Regions from separate parts of the Homo sapiens genome. Here regions 1, 3, 4, 5 and 6 are each linked to region 2. The links are contacts of gene promoters, found by promoter capture Hi-C in blood cells and fetal thymus (Javierre and others, 2016). All regions are on one chromosome and are shown on one strand. The core of a region is centred on a gene start or on the middle of the fragment in contact, and the rest is flanking DNA. Distances in the headings are between cores, read along the strand shown. Region 1 holds the start of LMF2 (lipase maturation factor 2). Region 2 holds the start of TRABD (TraB domain containing). Region 3 holds the start of SYCE3 (synaptonemal complex central element protein 3). Region 4 holds the start of MIOX (myo-inositol oxygenase). Region 5 overlaps BRD1 (bromodomain containing 1). Region 6 holds the start of ALG12 (ALG12 alpha-1,6-mannosyltransferase).

Region 1 (3,451 bases), core at 836-3,335, 320 kb before region 2:
GAGCCAGGTTCAGAGAAGGAAATTTGGGTTTTATTCTGGGCATAATGGAAAGCCACTGAGGGGTTGATTTTAGGCAGAAAACAGTGCTGTGGCCAGATTTTAATTTTTAAGAGTCACACTTGCTGCTGGTTGGAGCACGAATTGGACGGGACAAAAACAGGGATAAGGGAACCCAAATAGGAAGGTTTTACACAAATCCAGGCCAGAGACAATGGTGGCCTAGACCAAATAAAATGGACAACAGATGAATTCAAGTGATATTCCGGTGGTATAACTGATGGAATTCATGGATGAACTGAGTGTTAAGCATGGGGCTTCACTATAGCCACATTTAGCTTTTGCTTTTGGTTGAACAGCGGTGTCATTTTCCGAGATGGGAAAAGCTGGGGTTTAAGCAGAAAAATGAAGAGTTCCACTTTAAATATGTTAAATGAGATGTTTGCGTGACACCCACTAGATGTCAAGAGAGCAGCTGGATATGTAAAGTAGATTTGGAGGAAAGATCTAGGATGGAGCTGCAGATCTGGTAGTTGTCCTAATACAGGCAATATTTAAAATCATAGAAATAAATGACACTTCAGGGTAAATGCATCAGAAGATGACCTAGGCCCCATCCTGAGGAACTCAACACTTAGAGACTGGATAGAAAAGAAAAATCAGGCAATGAAATAGGGAAAAAAAATCCTACCACCATGTTTCAAAAAGAAAGGAGTGGCCAGTCCAACAAATGCTGACTTATGTCCCTTGGATTTGGTAGAATGGAGATCACTGCTGATCAAGACAAGAAACATTTAAGTGTCGTGGACGCCAGACTGAGCTGGGCTGAGGAGTAAAAATGAAGCGCAAATATGGAGCAGACAGCTTAACACAGGTCTAGACAGGGCTGTCAAACATGGAAGAAACACTAATCGCTAACAGGATAGAGCATGGCAATAGCTTGAAATTGGTTTGAAAATCCAAGATAAAAAATTCCTCTGACATCGTGATCCAGACCTCTCAAACACACAAGCATGCTCGCAATAACTGCAATAAAAGCAATAATGCTTTCTAGTCTATTCCACTACGTTAGAGAAACGGCTGGTCACCACCCACTCAATCATTCACGGCTCGCTGACGGGTAGAAACCTGCAATGACAGGTCCACGCTAATCCAACAAGGGATGATTTGGGGAGGCAGAGATGGAGTTTGAAAAGAAGCAGGGAGCCCGAGGACCTGCGCGGCCAGAGCGCCAGATAGCCATAGGCGTGGAGACGGTGGGGCGCCCACAGCCCCGGGCCCGGAGCCCCCGCCCCGCAGCCCCACCCGCCGGCCCACCCCGCGTCACTCCCCCGCCGCCCTTACCTCCTCCAGATACTCGCCCAGCTGGGCCGCCACGTCCACCTCCCAGTTCTTGGTGAGGTCGCGGATGGGCTGCAAGAGGTGGGCGAAGCGCGCCTCCACGTCCTCCATGTCCGGGAGGGAACGGGCGGCAAAGGGACCGCAGGGCTGCCTTCCGAGGGGTACGGCGTCCTCAGCCCGCCACTAGTTCTGGCGCCATTTTGCTGTTCCCGCCCAGGAAAATGCGTAGGCGCGGCGTCGCGCGCATGTCTATGACGTAACGTGGGCAAAAGCCAGAGAGGCGAACCCCGGCGCCGCGCAGCGGGAGCTCACCGGAAGAGTCGCGGGGCGGGGTCGAAGCCTCCGGGAGGGGGGGGTGGGCGGAGCTTTGGGCTGCCACCAGTTTGGACGGGAGGGCTTTTGGGGCCGCCGTGGGTCGGGCGGGGCGGGGTGGGGCGGGGCCTGGAGCTGCCGCGGGCGAGCGGGCCGAGGAGGCGGGGCTTGGGGGCTGCCACGGGTTGGGGGGGCGGGGCGGTGAGGAGGCGGGGCCTGGGGCAGCCGCGGGCGGGCGGACGGGCCGAGGAGGCGGGGCTTGGGGCTGCCACGGGTTGGGCGGGCGGGGCGGTGAGGAGGCGGGGCCTGGGACTGCCGCGGGCGGGCGGGCGGGCCGAGGAGGCGGGGCTTGGGGCTGCCACGGATTGGGCGGGCGGGGCGGTGAGGAGGCGGGGCCTGGGGCTGCCGCGGGCGGGCGGACGCGGAGGGCGGGCCCTGCTCTAGCGGGCCGCGTAGCGGACATGGCGGGCTCCCGGCTCCCGCGGCAGCTCTTCCTCCAGGGCGTGGCGGCCGTCTTCATGTTTGCTTTCGCTTCCCTCTACACGCAAATCCCAGGTGAAGGCACCCAGGGTGGGACACCCCCAGCCTCGGCGCGGGACCCTATGTCCTCTTTTCTCTGTGCCCGGCACTCACGCAGTCCGGGGTTGGGAGTGAGGGCCAGGCCTTGGCGTGGGGTAGGGGGCGGCGGTTCGTGTCCTGCAGGCCGCTGTGGGGGTAGGAAGGTGTGCGGTGATCCATTTCCCGTAAGGCTCTGGACTCTGACCTGGGGTGGGGGACAGAACTCTGAGAGAGGTGGGAGAGAGGCTTCCTCCCAGACCTGGTGGGACAGGTAGGAGATCGGGCTGAGACCTGGAAGAGGGCAGTGGGCTCTGCTGGGTGGGAGGCCCTGACTCAGGTAGTTGAGCAGGCCTCTAGCCCTGGGACGGGGTTTTGACAGGTCCCGACCTGGGGGACGGGCTCTGGAGGGACTGCAGACTCTGACCTAGGGATGGAGGTATCCGCATGCTCTGACCTAGGCTGGGGGATCTGCAGGCCCTGACTCAGAGGTAGTCTAGTCTGCAAGGGCTGTCCAGGGCCTGGCCATGACATGCCCTCCCACAGGCCTGTATGGCCCCGAGGGCATCCTACCTGCAAGGAGGACGCTGCGGCCTCAGGGCAAGGGGCGCTGGCAGCAGCTGTGGGAGACCCCGACGCTGCTGTGGGAAGCGCCGAGACTGGGGCTGGACACGGCCCAGGGCCTGGAGCTGCTGAGCCTGCTGGGTGCACTAGTGGCCCTGGGAGCCCTGCTGCTGAGCCCACTGCGCCACCCTGTCATCTACTTGCTGCTTTGGGCCGCCTACCTGTCAGCCTGCCAGGCAAGTGGGACCTGTGACCAGCTCACTCTATCTCCAACCCCCACCACCCACCCCTGCCTCTACCTTACCTGAGTCCACAGACACACCCGCTCCCTGACAGCCCCTCTCTCCGCAGGTGGGCCAGGTGTTCCTTTATTTCCAGTGGTGAGTGACGGCTGGGCCTGGGGCTGTGGGAGGCTGGGTAGGGGGTGGGGGAGGGCTCTGCCCTTCCTGGGAGGACTTTCCGAGGGAAGCAGCTGTGTGGGGAGGGGCTCTTGGTGCTATTTGCTCTCCCCATAGGGACTCCCTGCTGCTAGAGACTGGCTTCCTGGCCGTGCTGGTGGCCCCGCTGAGGCCAGCCTCCCACCGCAAGGAGGCCCCCCAGGGCAGGCAGGCAGGGGCCCTGCCCCACGAAGACCTCCCCTTCTGGCTGGTGCGATGGCTGCTGTTCCGCCTCATGTTCGCCT
Region 2 (3,311 bases), core at 1-2,500:
CCCACCCTGCCAGGCCCCCTCCTCGGACCCCACAGCATCAGGGCCTCCGGCGAGGCTGGCCAGCATCCCCACCAGTCACACTGCAAGGGCGGCGGCAGCAAGCGGGGAGCAGAGACACACAGCGCAGTGAGCCTGGCGGCCTGCACGGCCTCTTCAGGGACCTGAAAGCTAGGAGGCTTCCATCTGGAGGCTACCGAGGCTGCGGGAGTCCCCGCAGGGAGCTTAGCACCTCCACAAGTTCCTGGTTGTTTCTGGGACGCTAGTGCCCAGACAGCTCCCACTCCATCTTTCTTGTAAGAGTTTTGACAAAGACACACGGCAGCTTCATGATAGCTCAGTTAAAAAGACCTTTTAAGTTTGGGCTGCGCACAGCGGGGGACGATCTGGCGTCCACTTCGCCCATATGGGAACCCCGCTCTGCTCCAATTGAAGGGCAAAGGCACCTACAGAAGAGCGAAGCCCCAGGTTTCAGCGGGGCCGGAGGGGACAACGGGGGTCCGGGGCCTCCCGCTCGGCCTCCCCCAGCACCCCCAGAGACCCGCAGGCCTGGGCCGCCTTCCTCCACTCTCACCTCGGCCGGCTCCACCGCAGGCGGCAGGCGGGGGTGGCTGGGGCCCTCCCGACCCGCGAGGACCCTGGGACTCGAGGTCCGACCCGCGCCTTCCCGCGAGGCCGCCGCTGACCCTCCCCGCCCCAGCCCTGGGGGGCTCCGCTCCTCGGCAGCGCCGCTCCCGGCAGCGGTGGCAGGGGACGCGCGGGGCCTGCTCCCGCCCCAAACCTGACCCGGGCCTGACCCCCACGACCTGCTCCCCCGGCTCCAAAACCTGACCCGGGCCTGGCCCCCCCAACGACCTGCCACCCCGGCCCCCAAACCTGACCCGGGCCCGGCCCCCAACGACCCTGGTCTACCAGCCCCAAACCCTGAATCTGACCCTGGCCTGACCCCCACGACCTGCTCCCCCGGCCCCAAAACCTGAACCTGATCCGGGCCTGACCCCCACGACCTGCTACCCCGGCCCCAAAACCTGACCCGGGCCTGACCCCCCCCGCCCCCGGCCCCCACCCCCCGACTCGGGCTCGCTCCCCCCGCCCCCCACAGTCACCCCGCGGCCCTGACCCGGGCCCGCCCCCCGCTCGGTGCTGGGCCCCGTCCTCACGCACGCGCCGTCCGCGCCGCGCGGCGTACCGAGGCGAGGCAGCGGCGCTCCTCAGCCGGCCTCCATGCGGCGCGGGCCCTCAACGGACGGGGCGGGCTGGGGCCGCGGGGCGGGGCGGGGCGGACGGGCCGAGGGCGCCGGCGGCCGCGTGGCATGCCGGGAAGTGTAGTCCCACGCGCCTCCTGCTTGGCCCCGGCCCGCAACTTCGGACTACACTTCCCAGGGGGTAGCGCGCGGGGCCCCCGCCCCCCCCCCCCCCCCCGGCGCTCCCGGGTCCTAAGGAACATCGGCGCGCACTCAGGAGGGAGGGTTCGAGTCCCGCCGCGGTCACGGCCTTGCGAGGCGCGCCCACGTTCTCTGGTCGCAGCTCCCAAGCTGTGAAATGGGGACAATGCTCGCACGGCGTCCACAGGATGGTTTTCAGTCGAATGATATTGAAATGTAACTGTTCTGTGAGCCGTCAGTCCCGCACGAAAGGGACAGCCGATAGTGGGACGCGAGGAGCCGAGAACACGGGATCAGGGAACGCGCTGCCATGGCCTCGGCCTGGCCCCCTTCCCTCTGGGGATCGGCCTAGTCCGTCCTCCGGGGGTCGGCCCAGAGCGGTCCCCGACCCGGGACTCATGCCTCAGCGGGACCTCGGCCTTGCCGCAGGTTGGGGCACCCCGGGAAGGTCGGGCCCCAGGGGCCCCGCGGCCAGCCTAGCGGACGGAGAACCGGGACCAGGTGGGAGTCTTAGGGCGGGCCGACCCCCGGCCTCACGGACCCGGACGCTCAGTCACTTCCGATCGTCCGGAGGCCTCCAGGGGGACCCGGCTGGCCGCAGCCACGCCGACGCTAGACTCTCGCTGTGCGTGTTCGGCCCCGAGGGCAGGGGGAGACGGCCAGGCCCCACCCGCCGCGCCCGTCCTGCCCGGGCGCCCGGCCCCCTCGCTGTACCCAGCCTCTACCGGGGCGGCCGGGACCCGGCGGCCAAGTTGCTGCGCGCTGCGGGCACCGGCGCGGACGGGGGCCCGGGCGCTTCGCCGCCGCATGCAGACGACTCGCTGCCCGCAAGCTGCTGCGCCGTCCGCCTGCCCCGCTCTCCTGCAATGGTCCGGCCGCGCATCCCGGGCCCACGACTTCCTTCCTCCTCCACGACCCCGGGTTCTTGGCTGACCTGGCGCTGGCGCTGGGCTTAGTGCAGGCGTGGGCCTGGCAATGGTTTGCCTGCGGGCTGCATGCGCGGACCCCACAGCCAGCTCCCCGAAGCTCTGCGCCCACCTCTACGGCCCTGCCCCAGCCAAAGGATCAGGTTCTTGGAGCGGGGCCTGCCCTGGGGCCAGGACTCCAGTCACCGGGGGAGGGCTGCTGTGTCTTCCTGCCAGGCACTGATGAGTTAGTTGGGGAAAGGGGCCAGGTGGGGCCAGCTGGGGAACCATTTAGAAGAGGGAGGAGGGCGCACCTCTCTACTCGAGTGCCCTAGGACTAGCTCCTCTCTGGAGCCACGGGGAGGACCTCAGTGAGGGCTGCCCCACGCAGGAACCTTCAGCGAGCCTGGAAGGCTGACCCAGCAGGCCTGGGGTTGGGGGAGTCCAACGCAGCGCCCAGGCTTGGTCTGGGTCTGCCTGAGGCCGTCCACCAGGACTCCGTGCTGGGGAGCCTGCTTCCTTCCAGGCTCCAGGAAGGGAGGCCCCGGCCCCAGCCCCAGGTTCTGAGGAGCTGCCCCGGCTCGGGTGGCCTGCAGGGGTCCCCTCAGGTCCCTGGTCCTGAGTCTGCAGGTGGTCCTCCCGGGGTGGGGCGGATGGGTGAAAATGCCTGTCCACACGGCAGCAGGCTGGGCTGGCTGCCCACTGAGCATTCTTACACAAGAGGCCCCGCCCCCTCCTACAGCTTCCTGGTCCCCAAATGGCCAGGCCTGGCCTTAGAGAGGCCTCTGTCCTCCTTGGTGAAGGACACTCACTTTGGGCCCTAGGGCCTCTGGTTCACATCCTCTCCATTGATTCTCATTGTTCGCTGCCTTTGTGGTCATTCTGCCTTTCCGACCATCTCGGCCACATCCTCACAGGAGGGCAGCGGGTGGCAGTCGCCCCGGCTCCACCTCACCCATTTCTCAGTGCTGGGCTGGTGTGGAGGGAAGATCCCTGGCCTGGGGGCTGGAGGCCTGGGTTCTCA
Region 3 (3,255 bases), core at 558-3,057, 380 kb before region 2:
CCTGGGCTTCATGGCCTGGAGTTTGCAGGGTAGCCCACCTCCAGCTCCTGAGCAGGGTACTCAAGAGCCTGCACATTCCAGCTCAACTGATCTTTCCCGAGTCTTCTCTGTCCCTTACCAAGAACCCTGAGCCCAGAACACACTCGCCATTCCCCAAAGGAGGCAGGCTGAGCCACACCTTCGCCTTTGCCCTAGATGGGCCTTCTGCCTGGAATCCTGTGCCCTTTCTCCTACTCTCTCGGAAGCTGTCTTCCTTAGCCATCAGAATTATTCCTGATTCGGGCCAAGCACAGTGGCTCACACCTGTAATCCCAGCACTTTGGGAGTCCGAGGCGGGTGGATCACCTGAGGACAGGAGTTCGAGACCAGCCTGGCCAACATAGCGAAACCCGGTCTCTACTAAAAATACAAAAACTAGCTGGGCGTTGTGGCATGTGCTTGTAATCCCAGCTACTAGGGAGGCTGAGGCAGGAGAATCACTTGAACCTGGGAGGCGGAGGTTGCAGTGAGCCGAGATCGTGCCACTGCACTCCAGCCTGGGCAACAGAGCAAGACTCCGTCTCAAAAAAAAAAAAAAAGAATTATTCCCTATTCATGTTTCTCTGGGCTGCTGTAACAGAAATCGGCTCTGGGCTGTATAAGCAAATGGAAGTATGAAGAGCAGCTCACAGGTGGAAAGGGATGGCCAGAAAACCGGGTTCAACCGGGGCAGGAACCTGGCAGCTGGCGGAGGGAGTGTGGCCCAGGCAGCAGCCTCCTCAATAAACAAGCGAATGCTCACTCCTTGCCCAGAACTGTCTGGCTCAACCCCAGCCATTTTTCCTCCTCTGCAATCAGGCTGCTAAGAATCAGAATCCCTGAGAGAAAATTCAGGGGGTCTAAGGTTTGTCAGGATTCTCAAACACAAGGTGTTCAAAATCAAAGTTAACCTTCCAAGCTAGCTTCTCCCACTCTTCCACATCTCTGCCAGTGGTATCACCCCGGCCATTAGCCCCTTGCTTCTTTCTCCCTCCCTCCCACATTACCAAGCCCTGTCAAGTCGACCTTGGAATGGCTTTGACCCTGTCCACCACTCAGCCAAACAACAGCAACGGCCGGCCCCGTCGCCACCCGCCTCGGCAGCCAGAGACCTTTTAACTCTGCCACTCGCCTACTTACCACCCTTCTAGGGTGCCCACGTCCCTCTGAAAAAAAAGGCTGAGCTCAGACTGGCCTCTGGTCAGCCTCCTCCCAGCCAGAGCTTTCTGTCACTGCCCTTCTAGGTGTTGAGTGGCTCTGCTTCCAGTTCTTGCCTGGAGACCAGGAGCGCCCGGGAGGCCCCAGCACTTTCCAGCCCACATAGACCTGCGTGCACCTCTGCCTCGTCTCCCTGAGCCCGGGCTGCCTCCTCTGTAAGATACATGCCACATAATGTCCGCCACACATGATCGCTGTGACAGTGGAAATAGCTGGGCGTTCAGCGACTCATTCGACAAATGTTTACCAGCACCTTTGGTACCGGGCGCTGTCCTGGACACTGGGGACACAGCAGGCAAACGGGGCCCTGCGTATAAATCCTTAAGCTCAAGAAGGAGGTGGGGGCAAAACTGTCAGGCCGGGAAGCTCTTCATCTCCGCAGGATTCTCCCTCAACCTCAGGACGTCCCCAGCACCGCACCTGCCAGTCCCAGACTCGGACGCCGCAGACCTGTGGGAGCAGCGCGGAATGCCCCGCCCCTTTTCCCGAGGACACCCAATGAGGGCGAGAGGTCACTTCCGGGGAGGGTTCGCTAACGGAAAGGGCGGGGCATCCCTCTCGAGGAGCGGCCTTGTTCCTCAAGCGGCCGCTGGGGGCGCCAGAGCAGGACCGGAGCGCGGGCCAAGCTGGAGGTGAGCGAGGCCGCGCCCCCCTGGGCCCCGGCCCTCCCAACGCGCCCTGACGGCTGGGCTCCGCCTGACCCTGTCCTAGCGTTCGCGGTGGCACCAACCTCAAGCCAGACCCTTGACTTCGACCCAACTCCACTCACCCGACTCCACTCACTCCACACCCCATGCCCCTCCCCCGACGCCCCTCACCCCGCCTCACCCTTCACCCCTCATCGCTCACGTCACCGCTCACCCGCCTCCTCACCCAGCCTCGCCCCTCACCCCTCACCCCGCCTCACCCCTCACCCCGCCTCACCCCTCACCCCTCATCCCGCCTCACCCCTCACCCCTCATCCCGCCTCACCCCTCACCCCTCCTCACCCCGCCTCACCCGCCTCGCCCCTCACCCCTCACCCCTCCTCACCCCGCCTCACCCCTCACCCCTCACCCCGCCTCACCCCTCACCCCGCCTCACCCCTCACCCCGCCTCACCCTTCACCCCTCACCCCGCCTCACCCTTCACCCCTCACCCCGCCTCACCCCTCACCCCTCACCCCGCCTCACCCTTCACCCCTCACCCCGCCTCACCCTTCACCCCTCACCCCGCCTCACCCCTCCTTACCCCGCCTCACCCGCCTCGCCCCTCACCCCTCATCGCTCACGTCACCGTTCACCCGCCTCCTCACCCAGCCTCACCCCTCACCCCGCCTCACCCCTCACCCCGCCTCACCCCTCACCCCTCCTCACCCCGCCTCACCCCGCCTCACCCCTCCCCCGCTCCCCTCACTGCACACTCCATACCCCACTCTCCCCACCTTACATCCCTCACCTCAGTCCTTCACCCCCTTAACCTAATCTCCATGTCCTCACACCATACACTCCTGATCCTGAAGTCTGCACACCCTGGGCTTCTCATTCCGTGCAGCCTGCCCCTCTTACCCTCACACCTGCCACACCTGGGACCCCGGAGTCCACACACCACCTCACACCCCAAGTTCCCACACGCACCTCTGGCTTCCTCCACCTGCACTTCAGGACCCGCCCAGACTCTTCATAGCCCAACTCCAAGACTTCTCTCCCACATCACAGGTGCATTCCCTTCCTGTGCTGCTCTCATCCCGTACAAAAGAGCACATCTCTGCACCAAGCATCCCTCTTATCCCCTCACATTCCTTGTTCTCAGAGGGATCCCAGACTCTGTTAGAAACTCTTCGTACCAGGCAAGACACTCAGACCACAAACCAGACTCTAGGCTCTGACTCGCTCAACCCCCGTCCTTCACACCTAAAGTGATACCCAAGCCAGACCCTACACTCCCGCCCCACGCTCCCGCCCCACACTCCTCCCGCCCCACGCTCCTCCCGCCCCACACTTCCGCCACCCATCCTAAGCTCCGTTCCATTGTGCTTTG
Region 4 (3,698 bases), core at 1,038-3,537, 300 kb before region 2:
ATCGAGGATCCTGGAGGTCAGGGTTGTCCTGGAAGGTGGAGTCGCAGAAAACCACGGAGGCCTGCGGACGGCATCCGACGGGGAAGGTGTCGCCGACGACAGCCCACTGCAGAGGGACAGGAGGGACGGGAGGCCATGGGGGGAGTGGGGGAAGGTGTCGCCGATGACCACCCACTGCAGAAGGACAGGAGGGACGGGCGGCCATGGGGGGAGTGGGGGAAGGTGTCACCGATGACTGCCCACTGCAGAGGGACAGGAGGGACGGGCGGCCATGGGGGGAGTGGGGGAAGATGTTGCCGATGACTGCCCACTGCAGAGGGACAGGAGGGATGGGAGGGACGGGAGGGACAGGAGGGACGGGAGGGATGGGAGGGACAGGAGGGACAGGAGGGACAGGCAGCCATGGGGGGCCGTGGGGGAAGTGGGGGAAGGTGTCGCCGACGACCGCCCACTGCAGAGTGACAGGAGGGACAGGCGGCCATGGGGGGCCGTGGGGGGAGTGGTGCGGGGAGGCCGTGGGGGGTGCACTGGCCTGTCCCCCAGGTAGTATCCCAGGCCAAGCACCGAGGCCACCAGAGGGACAGGCAGCCGTGGGGGGGGCCGTGGGGGGTGCACTGGCCTGTCCCCCAGGTAGTATCCCAGGCCAAGCACCGAGGCCACCAGAGGGACAGGCAGCCGTCGGGGGGCCGTGGGGGGTGCACTGGCCTGTCCCCCAGGTAGTATCCCAGGCCAAGCACCAAGGCCACTCCACCCCCACCTTGCCTCAACATGCAGCCTCCTCACCCTCCACTTCCAACTCTTACCTGGGGCTCCCCGAACAGGGCCAGGACCTTCCCCAGGTCGTGCAGGAGCCCGACGAGGTGGAACCAGTCTGGGAGGGGGATGGACAGGGCAGGTTGGGGACTGCAGGGGCCAAGGCAGAGGATGAGCAGGTTTGCGGGGCTGAGAGCCAGGAAGGGTCCAGGGCCTGCTCCCCAACCCAGGCAGGGCTGCTGGAGGAGGCCTGGGCCCACTACTGTCCCCTCCCACCCTACAGGCTGCTGCATTCTGCCCCTTGGAGGCAGCACCTGCCCCCCTGCAGCACAGCCAGGGCTCACCCTTGTCTGGGTGGGCCTTCCGGATGCCCTCCGCTGTCTGGAAGGCATGGAAGGAGTTGGGGAAATCTACGTCCGGGTCCGACTCATCCACCAGCCCATCCAGCAGGTCCACGGCCTCCATGACTGTCATTTTCTTGTAGGAGAAGCCCCCAAACTGGGCATGCTGGCGGGGAAGGAGAAGGCAGTGTGGCCCAGGGTCAGCAGGCCCACCACACAGGCCTCTCCATCCCCTCGGCGCCTGGTGGGCTCATGGGGCTGAGGGCAAGGGTCCCTCCGCGTTTGCACGGGGCGGCAGGAAACGCCTACCTTGCTCCTGACGAAGTCCACTGTCTGGTGCGTGTGCATGAGCTTGTAGGTGGTGAAGACACGGTCCAGGAGGGGACCTGACTGCAGGCCGGAGGGTCAGTGGCGCCACCCCCACCCTGCACACGAGGCCCCATGCCTCCCCTCTCCCAGGCAGCCCCACAGGGTGTGATGGGGGTGGGAGTTCCCACAGGGCACCCCCTGGAACTGTGTGAAGGGCAAGTGCTGCTCCCCAGGGTGTGGATGGGGGAGAAGGGGGGCAGGACGGCAAGGTACTCACCGTGTAGTTCCGGAAGCTGGCCTTGTCTTTGGCCACCTCTGGGTCCACATCAGGTCGGTAGACCAGGGAAGGGTCTGGGCCCTGGGTAGGTGGAGGATTGAACCTATTTCACCATCATGTCAGCTCCACGAGGAAGCACAGACATTCCCAGGGTGGCTGCAGACTCCAAGCCTGCCTCTGCTCGAGGGCTGGTGGGTGACACGCGAGGACACAGCCTCTCCCACGCCATCATCCCAGCCCCTGCCCTGGCCTCAGCGAGTCCCAGGAGCTCTCACTCCCAGGTCCTCATCTGCAAAGCGAAAGTCAGCAGACGTCTGCTTCCGGGGTACAGGGGACACCACGCCTGAGCGGCACCCATGGCCACCCTTGAGGGGTGGAAGTGGCTTTGGGAGGAGACTGAGTCCACAGGGAGCCTGGGGGTCGGCAGCCGCTGGCTCTTGCCCAGCTGGACGGAGGAGGAGGGCTGGCCAGTGCCAGCTAGAAGAGGGCGGGAGTGGCTGGCCACCAGGAGAGCAGTCAGCAGAGCCTCTCTGCATGGGGTCTGGGTACTCACCACCGTCACCTTCATCCTGAGAGGGAGCGGCGCTCAGGTGGCAAAGCACAGGCTGGCGAGTGTGTCCTCAGCCAGGCTCCTATATACACCCCAGGTTACATAAGTGTCCGCAGTAATAAATGACCATCCACCCTCCTCCCGGCCTCAGGGAGTTAATGTGTCAGCACAGCAGCAGCCCCCAGCAGTCCCACATCCTCTGGCCCTGACTCAGCCTCACACTCCTGTCCCGAGCCGCTGACCTGCCTAGGGTTATCTGTGGGCCCAGCCTCCCACTTGGGCCCTGGCCTTAGACCCCTCTGTGGGGTCCCACAAGTAGGGGCAGACCCAAGACCCCACCCTCAAGCACACGCCCCCTCTGCACCACCCCTTCCCCGGCTGCCCCACTGGATCTCAGGAGGTGAAAACTTGTCCCCAGGCCCCCCGTGATTCTGGGTGGGGCAGGAGCTTGTTAAGAAAAGATGATTCTGAGGACTTGTTAAAATGGTGAGAAAAGCTTTATTCAAGAGAGTGGTGAGAGGAGCTCACCTCCGAGTTCAACAACCACAGCTGGAGATTGATGGCGTTGGAGGGGTCAGCGGATGGGAAGTTGTTAGGGCGGCCTTCGAGGGTAGGGGGATTCTCACTGGAGTGGCTCAATGAGGATCTTGCAGGAGGCCGGCAGGGTGATGAGATCAAGGGTGGGAGATGAGGAATGGGATCAGATATCGAGGGTGGGTAATTCTCCATAAACTGATTTAGAGGATTCTTGCTAACACCGGGGTCGGCGGGCCCAGCGAGGATGGGGATGGGGTCAGGCCTCGTCGAGGAAAGGACTCAGGGGCACCTGCCTAGAGTTCGGCCACAGAGTGTGTCAGGCTCTGGGAGAGGGGCCTCACGGAGAGTTGGAGCAGGCACGGAACCGCCAACACCCAGGCCGCCAACGCAACTTCCCATGCATGGGCCCTGCAGGCATGGAGGACACCGTGAGAACAAAGTGCCCGCGGCAGAGCTGGCGTCTTGGAGCGTGGCCAGGGAAGTCTGGGAACAGCAGTCGGCTGGGGCAGGAGAGAGGGCAGTGGGGTGCTGGGGCCATACCTAGGGCTGTGAAGATCAGAGTTCTGGGCTTCAGGGGTCAGGCAAGAGGGCTGTGGGCAGCTGACCTGACTCAACAAGATCCTGGCACAGCTGAGCTGAGAAGCAACTGTGAGGAGACCCCAGCGCCCCCCATTTAAACGGCACCTGCCCCACACTCTCCTTCCTTGTCTGACTTCCTGTGGCACTCAGCACTCCCTGCCACTCCACCACCCACTTATTCTACCTTCTACGTTTGTCTCCTTCTATCTCCCCCTAGAATGTCAGCCCCTGGGGGTCAAGGCTGTATCCTCACGTGTCCCAACACGGGTAGGTCACGTGCTCAGCATGCACTGGCCAGAGGGATGCAGACAGGTGCCTGGGAGGAGGCTACGGCCATCGCCCCGAAAGCAGG
Region 5 (3,236 bases), core at 611-3,110, 410 kb after region 2:
GGCAGGCTTCCGGGGACTGCGCTTGGCTGGGCTGTGGGACACCTTTGCGCCATCTCCTTTGGGGGCAGAGAGGGACATTTCTGTGTTCAGTCTTTGGCCTCCTAGGAGGTCACTGGGAAGGCCCTTGAGGGTGGGTGGACCCTGGCCGCTGTGGGAATTCCGTGCAGCTCCTGTGTTGATGGGGCAGCGGCTCTTTCCTGGCAGCCGCCGCCTCTTTTAACGTATTTCTCACAGTCACCAGCTTTACTTTCAGCGTTAAAAAAAAACCTCGTGCTGAAAAAGTTGCTGAAAGTTGCCCCTTGCTATTTACATGATTTAGAGGCTTGGGCTCGGCCTCAGTGCCTGCTGTTTGCAAATGCCTCATGGACCGGGCACCCATCTCTGCAGACCTTAGGCCCTGGGTTCCCCACGTTGGGCCCCACCTCAAGGCTGGCCTGGGCTTCAGAATGTTCTGGGCTGAGGTCCTTGCAGGGGTGCTGAGGTGCGGGTCATGGTGGACATCTCCCAGCTGGCTGGAAGAGCCTCCCAGGGCGGGAGTTGGCAGGGCCGAGATTGAGAGATCTCAGAACCATAGCTGTCTTAGATTATTTTCTGGTGGTCCAGGTGGAGGCTGGGAGGGTCCGGGCAGCGCAGGCCACCTTGCAGCTCCCCCGAGGTTCTGGGGACTCCAGGCGGTGGCTGCAGAGCCTCCCGGGATGTGTCTGTGTCCTGGTCTGGCTTCTTGGCTTCCTGGGTGACCCCGCACTGCCGCAGCCCCCAGACCGCCTGTTAGCAAGCCTTGCAGCTGTCCCACCCCCGCCAGGCCTCCTGCTGGGTGGTGTCTCGGTTGGGCTGGGTTTGTCTGTGCTGCCCACGTCTTCCCGGGTGCTGTCACATTTTCATGGGTGACACGCAGAACCTCTGTGTGTTCTTGCGTCATACGCGCACTCACTGAATGCTTAGGAAAATTAAGAGGGGCATTTTATCATTCTCCTCTTTCTGAGAATTAAGGACTTGCCTTGTGTTTTAATCCCCTTCCTGGCCCCACTCCATGCACACGGAGCCGGGGCCGTCGTGGCTGCTGAGTGGTCTGTGCATGGCTTGGCTGTGTTGGTGCTGGCACAGCTGCGGGTGATCTCGTGCTAGGGCCCTCAGGCTGGCACCTCTGGGCAGTCTTGTGAAGGCCGCACTGGTCATCGTCTTCCCCCAAGTGGCCGTTGCTCGGCCAACCAGTAACTACTAAAAGCCTCCCCACCCAGGCCCTGGGCTGCGTCTGTTCAGCCTGGAGCAGGCTCACCCTGCACCTGGGGTCTGGAGTGTGCTGGGGGCCGGGCTGTGGGGTGTGGGTCGCCAGGCTCGTGGCTGCTCTCTGGAGACGGGTCACACGCGTTGGCAGACCCCTCTCCGGGCCTGTGGGCTGAATGCTGGCAGGGGTGCTGGGCTCCGTCCGTCCACTGCTGATGCGAGCTGGGTGGGCTTCCCTTGCCTTCACCCACTCAGGTTGGAGTAGGGATGGAGTCGCTGCTCCTGAGGGGTTCTCGGGGGCCAGGACGGGACTTTTAATTCCCTCTTGAGACATCTTCGGGGCCTGAGTGTGCAGGGTCTGAGCCCACTCTGTGATGAGTATGGGGAGCATGTGGAGCCCCAGGGCAGCTCAGCGTGTGGCTCAAGGCCTTCTCCTGTAGGTTTTTAAATTTATTTGTTCCCTTGCCAGAAATGAGTATGACACCCCCAACTGGCCACAGTTCCTGCCTTAAAATGACCGAGGTTAAAATGAGAAACACAGAGCTTCCCTTGGAGGTCACGGTACATTCCAGTCCAGGAGAGACGGAGCCGGTGTCTGACTTGAGTCTGTGGAGGGCAGCAGTGCACCCGCCCAATCTGTGCATTCCCTTCTGAGCTTGATTTAGCCCCTCTGTTTCAGTCAGTCATGCTCATTGAGAACAGACAGCAAGTGTATGAAGCGGGTGGAGGCTGATTCAGCCCCTGTATTGAAAAGTCGGTCGTGCTCATTGAGAACAGACGGGAAGCGTACGAAGCGGGTGGAAAATCCCGCAGTCCAGCCATTCCCTTCAAAACATGCCTCCCAGCCACTCAGGAGGCTGAGGCAGGAGGATCACTTGAGCCCAGGAGGTCAAGGTTGCAGTGAGCCATGGAGTCCATTGCACTCCATCCTTGGTGACAGAGTGAGACATCGTTTCCAAAAAAATTCTACAGAAATGCTCTATTTACAAATTTACATAATTTCCTTTGGAAATAGATTTAAAAATTTTTTAAGGATGAGGTAGGTAGGCAGGAAAACGGGGTTCTTTTTGGATAAAAAAATTCACATGGCCGGGTGTCATGGCTCATGCCTGTAATCCCAGCACTTTGGGAGGCCGAGGCAGGCGGATCACGAGGTCAGGAGATTGAGACCATCCTGGCTAACACGGTGAAACTCCGTCTCTACTAAAAATACAAAAAATTAGCCAGGCATGGTGGCGGGCGCCTGTAGTCCCAGCTACTCGGGAGGCTGAGGCAGGAGAATGGCGTGAACCCGGGAGGTGGAGCTTGCAGTGAGCCAAGATCGTGCCACTGCACTCCAGCCTGGGCGACAGAGTGAGACTCCGCCTCAAAAAAGAAAAAAAAAATCACACACCCCTTTAGCTCTGACACCCAGAGGGCCCCCAGCAGGAACATCATCCCCCCGTTGTGACTCCCATGGGGGACCTCATCGGGGGGCCTTGGGCAGATGTGTTGTTTCCCGTTGACTGACAAAGTCAGGATTTTTAGGGGGAAAATACTGAGATTTGCCTTATTTTTTAAACATTGAGATGATGGAATTGTGAGTGGTGTTTTGTTTAGCTGTGTACAGTACTTGCAGCTTCATGGTGAGTGAGGCCAGACACACTCAGACACGGCGATGGCCCCGGATTTTGTGTTTTAAAGTGTTTCGTCAGCATTTTTGACTTCATGTTAACACTTGTCTTTTGAACCAAGGTTTTTTCTTTTTAAAACCTGATTTCCTATTCCCTGGAGCTCTGCTCCTGTGAACATGTTTTTGTGTCTTTGGTGGCCCCTTCGGCCTGGTGAAGTTTCCGTTCAAACGCGGCCGGTGCCCACGTGGACAGGCCGCCCCCGTGTTTGCACTCACAGGTTGCACATCTGCCCCCATGGCAGGCTCACGGCATCCTTTCTTTGCCTTCACAGAGCCTGTCTAAAGACCCGGGCTTGTCAAGAGGAGCATCTTCATGGTGCTCAGCAAACTACTACGATCG
Region 6 (3,455 bases), core at 165-2,664, 270 kb after region 2:
AAGGCACTCACAGCTGCAGCCACCAGGCCTCCAGGTGCTCCTCCTGCGCCTCTAGCATCTGATTGCATTCGAAGTCGCTGCTCTCGCACAGCCCCTCCAGGATCTCCAGCAGGCGAATCTCGCTGAAACACAGGCCCACACCGGCCCACCGTCAGCGCCTCCAAGGCAGTGAAGAAAAATCCGAACCAATACGCCAACCTGGGTGCAGGGGCCGGGGAGCCAGGACTCCGGGCACAGAGAATAAGGGGACCCCACTGTCAGGGGAAGCCAGGAGCGGTTCCCACAAGTGGGGCTGGTGTTCCAGTTTACATTTTGAAAAGCCACTGTCTGTTGAGGGGGTAGGGACCAGAGCAGAAGCTGGAAGGCCAGAGAGGGGCCAGCCATTAGTCCTCAGGGAGAAGCCGAGGTGACTCGGACGGGTGACTGGTGCCTCGGGGGCTGTTCTGTCTCCCTGTCATTAACACAGGCACCAAAGGCAGGACACGACTTCCCAGGACAGCGCCAGGCCAAGACCCACAGGGGTGCTCCAGGGCACCCACCTGGACTCGTACTTGGACAGCGTCTTTTCCTCCCAAGCCGTGTTCCCGCCGCCAAAGTTCTTCTTTGCGGTGTCCACCATCCCCTGCGAGGAGACAGTGCCCATAGTGCTTGGTACCACCTGACCCGGGTCCAGGGTGGGGGCGAGCCCAGGTCGAGGGTGAGGGGACTCCAGGCCCACGGTGGCGTCGACCCTGGTTCCACGGTGGGGGTGGATCCGGGTCAAGGGTGAGGGGGACTCCAGGACCACGGTGGAGGGACTCTGGATCGACGGTGAGGGGGATCCCGAATCCAGGGTGAGGGGGACCCCGGATCCAGGGTGAGGGCGACCCTGGGCCCAAGGTGGGGCGACCCCGGATGCAGGGTGAGGGGGACCCCGGGCCCAAGGTTGACGACCCCGCCCGGCCCCTTCCCACCTGGTTAAACTTGTCCACCAGCCCCCGGCACCGGTGGCAGGGCGTCGGCTTCTTGGCGGCCTCCGGCGCGGGCGGCAGCAGCAGCAGAAGCGGCAGGAGCCCCAGCGCGGCCCGGCGCGGCAGGCGCATGGCGGGTAGCGCTGCGGGAAGACGCAGCCGGAGCTCCAGGTCCTGCGGCCGTGCTGCTCCGGCCTCCCGGCCGCCCACCCGCTCCCAGCCGCGCCGGCCTGTCCCCCAGGCTACTTGACGGCGCCGGCGAGGCCCCGCCCCACCCGCCAGCCCCGCGCCGCTATTGGTTGATGGGACCCGCCCCGGCCTGATATGGCCCAATCCGAGTTCGCCACGAGAGGTGACCAATGGGAAGGCCCCGGATCAGCGGCCGCCAGGAGTCCGGGGGCGGGGCGTGCAGGTCCGACCCCGCCTCCCGCTCCCCGCCCCTCGCGCGCAGCCCGCGGCGGCCATCTTTACTCAGGGCACAGAGGGTCTCTGCGGCCGTAGCGGCCGGGGCTGCGGTAGCCACTTTAGATTTGGGCAAGGACTTTAGATTCGGGCTCTGTTCTGTTTCCGCCGTCCTGCTTCCTGCCGAGGCTGGCCCAGGCAGCCGCGCTTCGAAGGACGCCGCCGGGAGCTGCGGAGGTCAGTGCGCGCTGCCGCGACCGGGGCCTTCAGGCGGGCGCGCGGCGAGACCAGGGAGGAGGCGGGCGAGGGCGCGACCCGAGCTGGCGCTGGCGCTGGATTCCTGAGGCCTCACCGCGCATGTCCACGCGTCACAGCCCCGTGCTCCTTACCTGGGGCTGCACCCCTCACTTGGGGCCGGGCTCCTCACCTGGGGCTGGACCTGTCACCTGGGGGCCAGACCTCTCACCCGGGGGCCGGACCTCTCATCCGGGGGCCCGACCTCTCACCTGGGGCTGGACCTCTCACCTGGGGCCGGGCTCCTCACCTGGGGCCGGACCTCCCACCTGGGGGATGGGTTTTTCACCTGGGGGCTGGGGATCTGGGGTCCACTTAGGGTCTCTGGGGGCTGGGGATCTGCATTTCTACAGGCGCTTGAGGTGATGAACACTCGCTCATGTTCAGGAACCCCTGGTTTAAATTAGGGGAAATAAAACGTGCAGCGTCTGGATTTCAGAGAACTCCTGCCTGTGGAAGGAAGGAGTGCAGATAACACTGCACATTTAAAAAAAAAAAAAGTAACATCTGATTTGACCAGTTTCTTTTCTGTTTTTTTGAGACGGAGTCTCACTTTGTCGCCCAGGCTGGAGTGCAGTGGCGCGATCTCAGCTCACTGCAAGCTCCGCCTTCCAGGTTCCTGTGATTCTGCTGCCTCAGCCTCCTAAGTTGGGATTACAGGCACCCACCACCAGGTCCGGCTAATTTTTGTATTTTTAGTAGAGACGGGGTTTCACCATGTTGGCCAGGCTGGTCTCGAAGTCCTGACCTCAAGCGATCTGCCTGCCTCAGCCTCCCAAAGTGCTAGGGTTACAGGCGTGAGCCACCATGCTTAGCCTGATTTGATCAATTTCGGTAGAGGCCTTAAAATCTGGATTGATGGGGACAAGAGGGTCTTTGCAGGTCATTCCCTAATCTGAGATGCCATTGTTCTGTAAACCACCATTTTAAAGTGTCATGGCCTGGGCCCGTTTTAACCTGTGGGTGCTCTCGAAGCACCCGTCACTTAGATTAGCCACAGCTGCTGCCCAGCTGCCCAGCAGAGTGGGCTAGTGCAGGACAGTGTCCGTTCACCCTCGCCTGGTGGGGGGTTCGTCGTGGTTTTCGTGCTTGCTGGTGTTGACTTGGTCTTCCCGTGCTCCTGGCAGAGAATCCAGACTCACCCTTGGTCTTCTCATGCCCTCGAAAGTGAGCTGTGCTGGTCATCAGCAGAAGGCACACCTTGTTGGGTCCGAGGAGGTGCTGGGGGCCCGCCAGGAGTGTCAGAGTCAGCACGTAATGTTTTCACCCCACAGCTGAACTCTTCCTTGCTGGGGAACTCCCCTGGGTGGAGAGGTGTGGAGTGGGGTTGTGGGGGACTGCCAAGCAGCACTTGCTGTGTGCACCTCCCACATCTTGGCACGTAGATGCTCCCCGTTCCGTTTTATTTTTTATTTTTGTAGAAATGGGGTCTCATGATGTAGCCCAAGTTGGTCTTGAACTCCGGGCCTCAAGCAGTACCCCCCATGTCAGCTTCCTGAGTAGCTGGGATTATTTTTGTGGAGATGGGGTCTGGCTCTGTAGCCCAGGTTGGTCTTGAACTCCTGAGTAGCTGGAATTACAGGCGTGAGCCAACACATCCGGCTTGCTTCCTATTTCTTTTTTTTTGAGACGGAGTCTGGCTCTGTTGTCCAGGCTGGAGTACAGTGGTGCGATCTTGGCTTGCTGCAACCTCTGCCTCCCGAGTTCAAGCAATTCTCCTCCTCTGCCTTCCAAGTAGTTGGGATTACAGGCGCACACCACCATGCCCAGCTAATTTTTGTATTTTTAGTAGAGATGAGGTTTCACCAT

Evidence for each region. Contacts are between HindIII fragments. The CHiCAGO score rates a contact against its expected background, and 5 or more counts as called.
Region 1: the fragment with the promoter of LMF2 here is called in contact with the fragment with the promoter of TRABD in region 2 in 10 of 17 cell types (fetal thymus, erythroblasts, total CD4 T cells and 7 more); the score reaches 8.9 in fetal thymus.
Region 3: the fragment with the promoter of SYCE3 here is called in contact with the fragment with the promoter of TRABD in region 2 in 5 of 17 cell types (monocytes, total CD4 T cells, neutrophils and 2 more); the score reaches 8.2 in monocytes.
Region 4: the fragment with the promoter of MIOX here is called in contact with the fragment with the promoter of TRABD in region 2 in 1 of 17 cell types (M0 macrophages); the score reaches 5.7 in M0 macrophages.
Region 5: a contact is called between a fragment that was not itself captured here and the fragment with the promoter of TRABD in region 2, in 1 of 17 cell types (erythroblasts). The highest score is 5.0, in erythroblasts.
Region 6: the fragment with the promoter of ALG12 here is called in contact with the fragment with the promoter of TRABD in region 2 in 3 of 17 cell types (endothelial precursors, erythroblasts and neutrophils); the score reaches 6.9 in endothelial precursors.

The regions. Positions count from the first base shown.
Region 1 is chr22:50,506,336-50,509,786 of GRCh38, reverse strand. It overlaps LMF2 (lipase maturation factor 2), which reads left to right and starts at 2,085. Exons shown (of 14, transcript NM_033200.3): 1 at 2,085-2,205; 2 at 2,752-3,005; 3 at 3,121-3,149; 4 at 3,285-3,451. The coding sequence starts at 2,112. NCAPH2 (non-SMC condensin II complex subunit H2) reads right to left here and starts at 1,563. Exons shown (of 20, transcript NM_152299.4): 1 at 1,342-1,563. The coding sequence starts at 1,449. RefSeq lists silencers at 1,025-1,314, 1,985-2,084 and an enhancer at 2,305-2,354. The HindIII fragment of the contact is 8,515 bases long and covers 1-3,451 here.
Region 2 is chr22:50,183,852-50,187,162 of GRCh38, reverse strand. TRABD (TraB domain containing) reads right to left here and starts at 1,250. Exons shown (of 10, transcript NM_001320485.2): 1 at 1,187-1,250. RefSeq lists silencers at 502-811, 1,078-1,447, 1,718-1,817, 2,008-2,077 and an enhancer at 2,963-3,311. The HindIII fragment of the contact is 17,327 bases long and covers 1-3,311 here.
Region 3 is chr22:50,561,471-50,564,725 of GRCh38, reverse strand. It overlaps SYCE3 (synaptonemal complex central element protein 3), which reads left to right and starts at 1,807. Exons shown (of 3, transcript NM_001123225.3): 1 at 1,807-1,868. It overlaps LOC107985568 (a long non-coding RNA gene), which reads right to left and starts at 1,765. Exons shown (of 2, transcript XR_001755606.3): 1 at 1,159-1,765. RefSeq lists silencers at 1,706-2,115, 3,186-3,255. The HindIII fragment of the contact is 5,765 bases long and covers 1-3,255 here.
Region 4 is chr22:50,485,448-50,489,145 of GRCh38, reverse strand. It overlaps MIOX (myo-inositol oxygenase), which reads right to left and starts at 2,287. Exons shown (of 10, transcript NM_017584.6): 1 at 2,234-2,287; 2 at 1,681-1,761; 3 at 1,404-1,484; 4 at 1,098-1,260; 5 at 804-871; 6 at 1-106. The coding sequence starts at 2,248. ADM2 (adrenomedullin 2) reads right to left here. Exons shown (of 3, transcript NM_001253845.2): 3 at 2,709-3,698. The HindIII fragment of the contact is 4,673 bases long and covers 1-2,728 here.
Region 5 is chr22:49,778,036-49,781,271 of GRCh38, reverse strand. The region is part of intron 8 of BRD1 (bromodomain containing 1); the gene reads left to right. Among named protein-coding and RNA genes, the nearest start is that of BRD1, 48 kb to the left of the region's middle. The HindIII fragment of the contact is 4,505 bases long and covers 1-3,236 here.
Region 6 is chr22:49,916,397-49,919,851 of GRCh38, reverse strand. It overlaps ALG12 (ALG12 alpha-1,6-mannosyltransferase), which reads left to right and starts at 1,414. Exons shown (of 10, transcript NM_024105.4): 1 at 1,414-1,589. CRELD2 (CRELD disulfide isomerase 2) reads right to left here and starts at 1,218. Exons shown (of 10, transcript NM_024324.5): 1 at 954-1,218; 2 at 540-622; 3 at 12-122. The coding sequence starts at 1,082. RefSeq lists silencers at 1,015-1,514, 1,625-1,824. The HindIII fragment of the contact is 6,188 bases long and covers 1-3,455 here.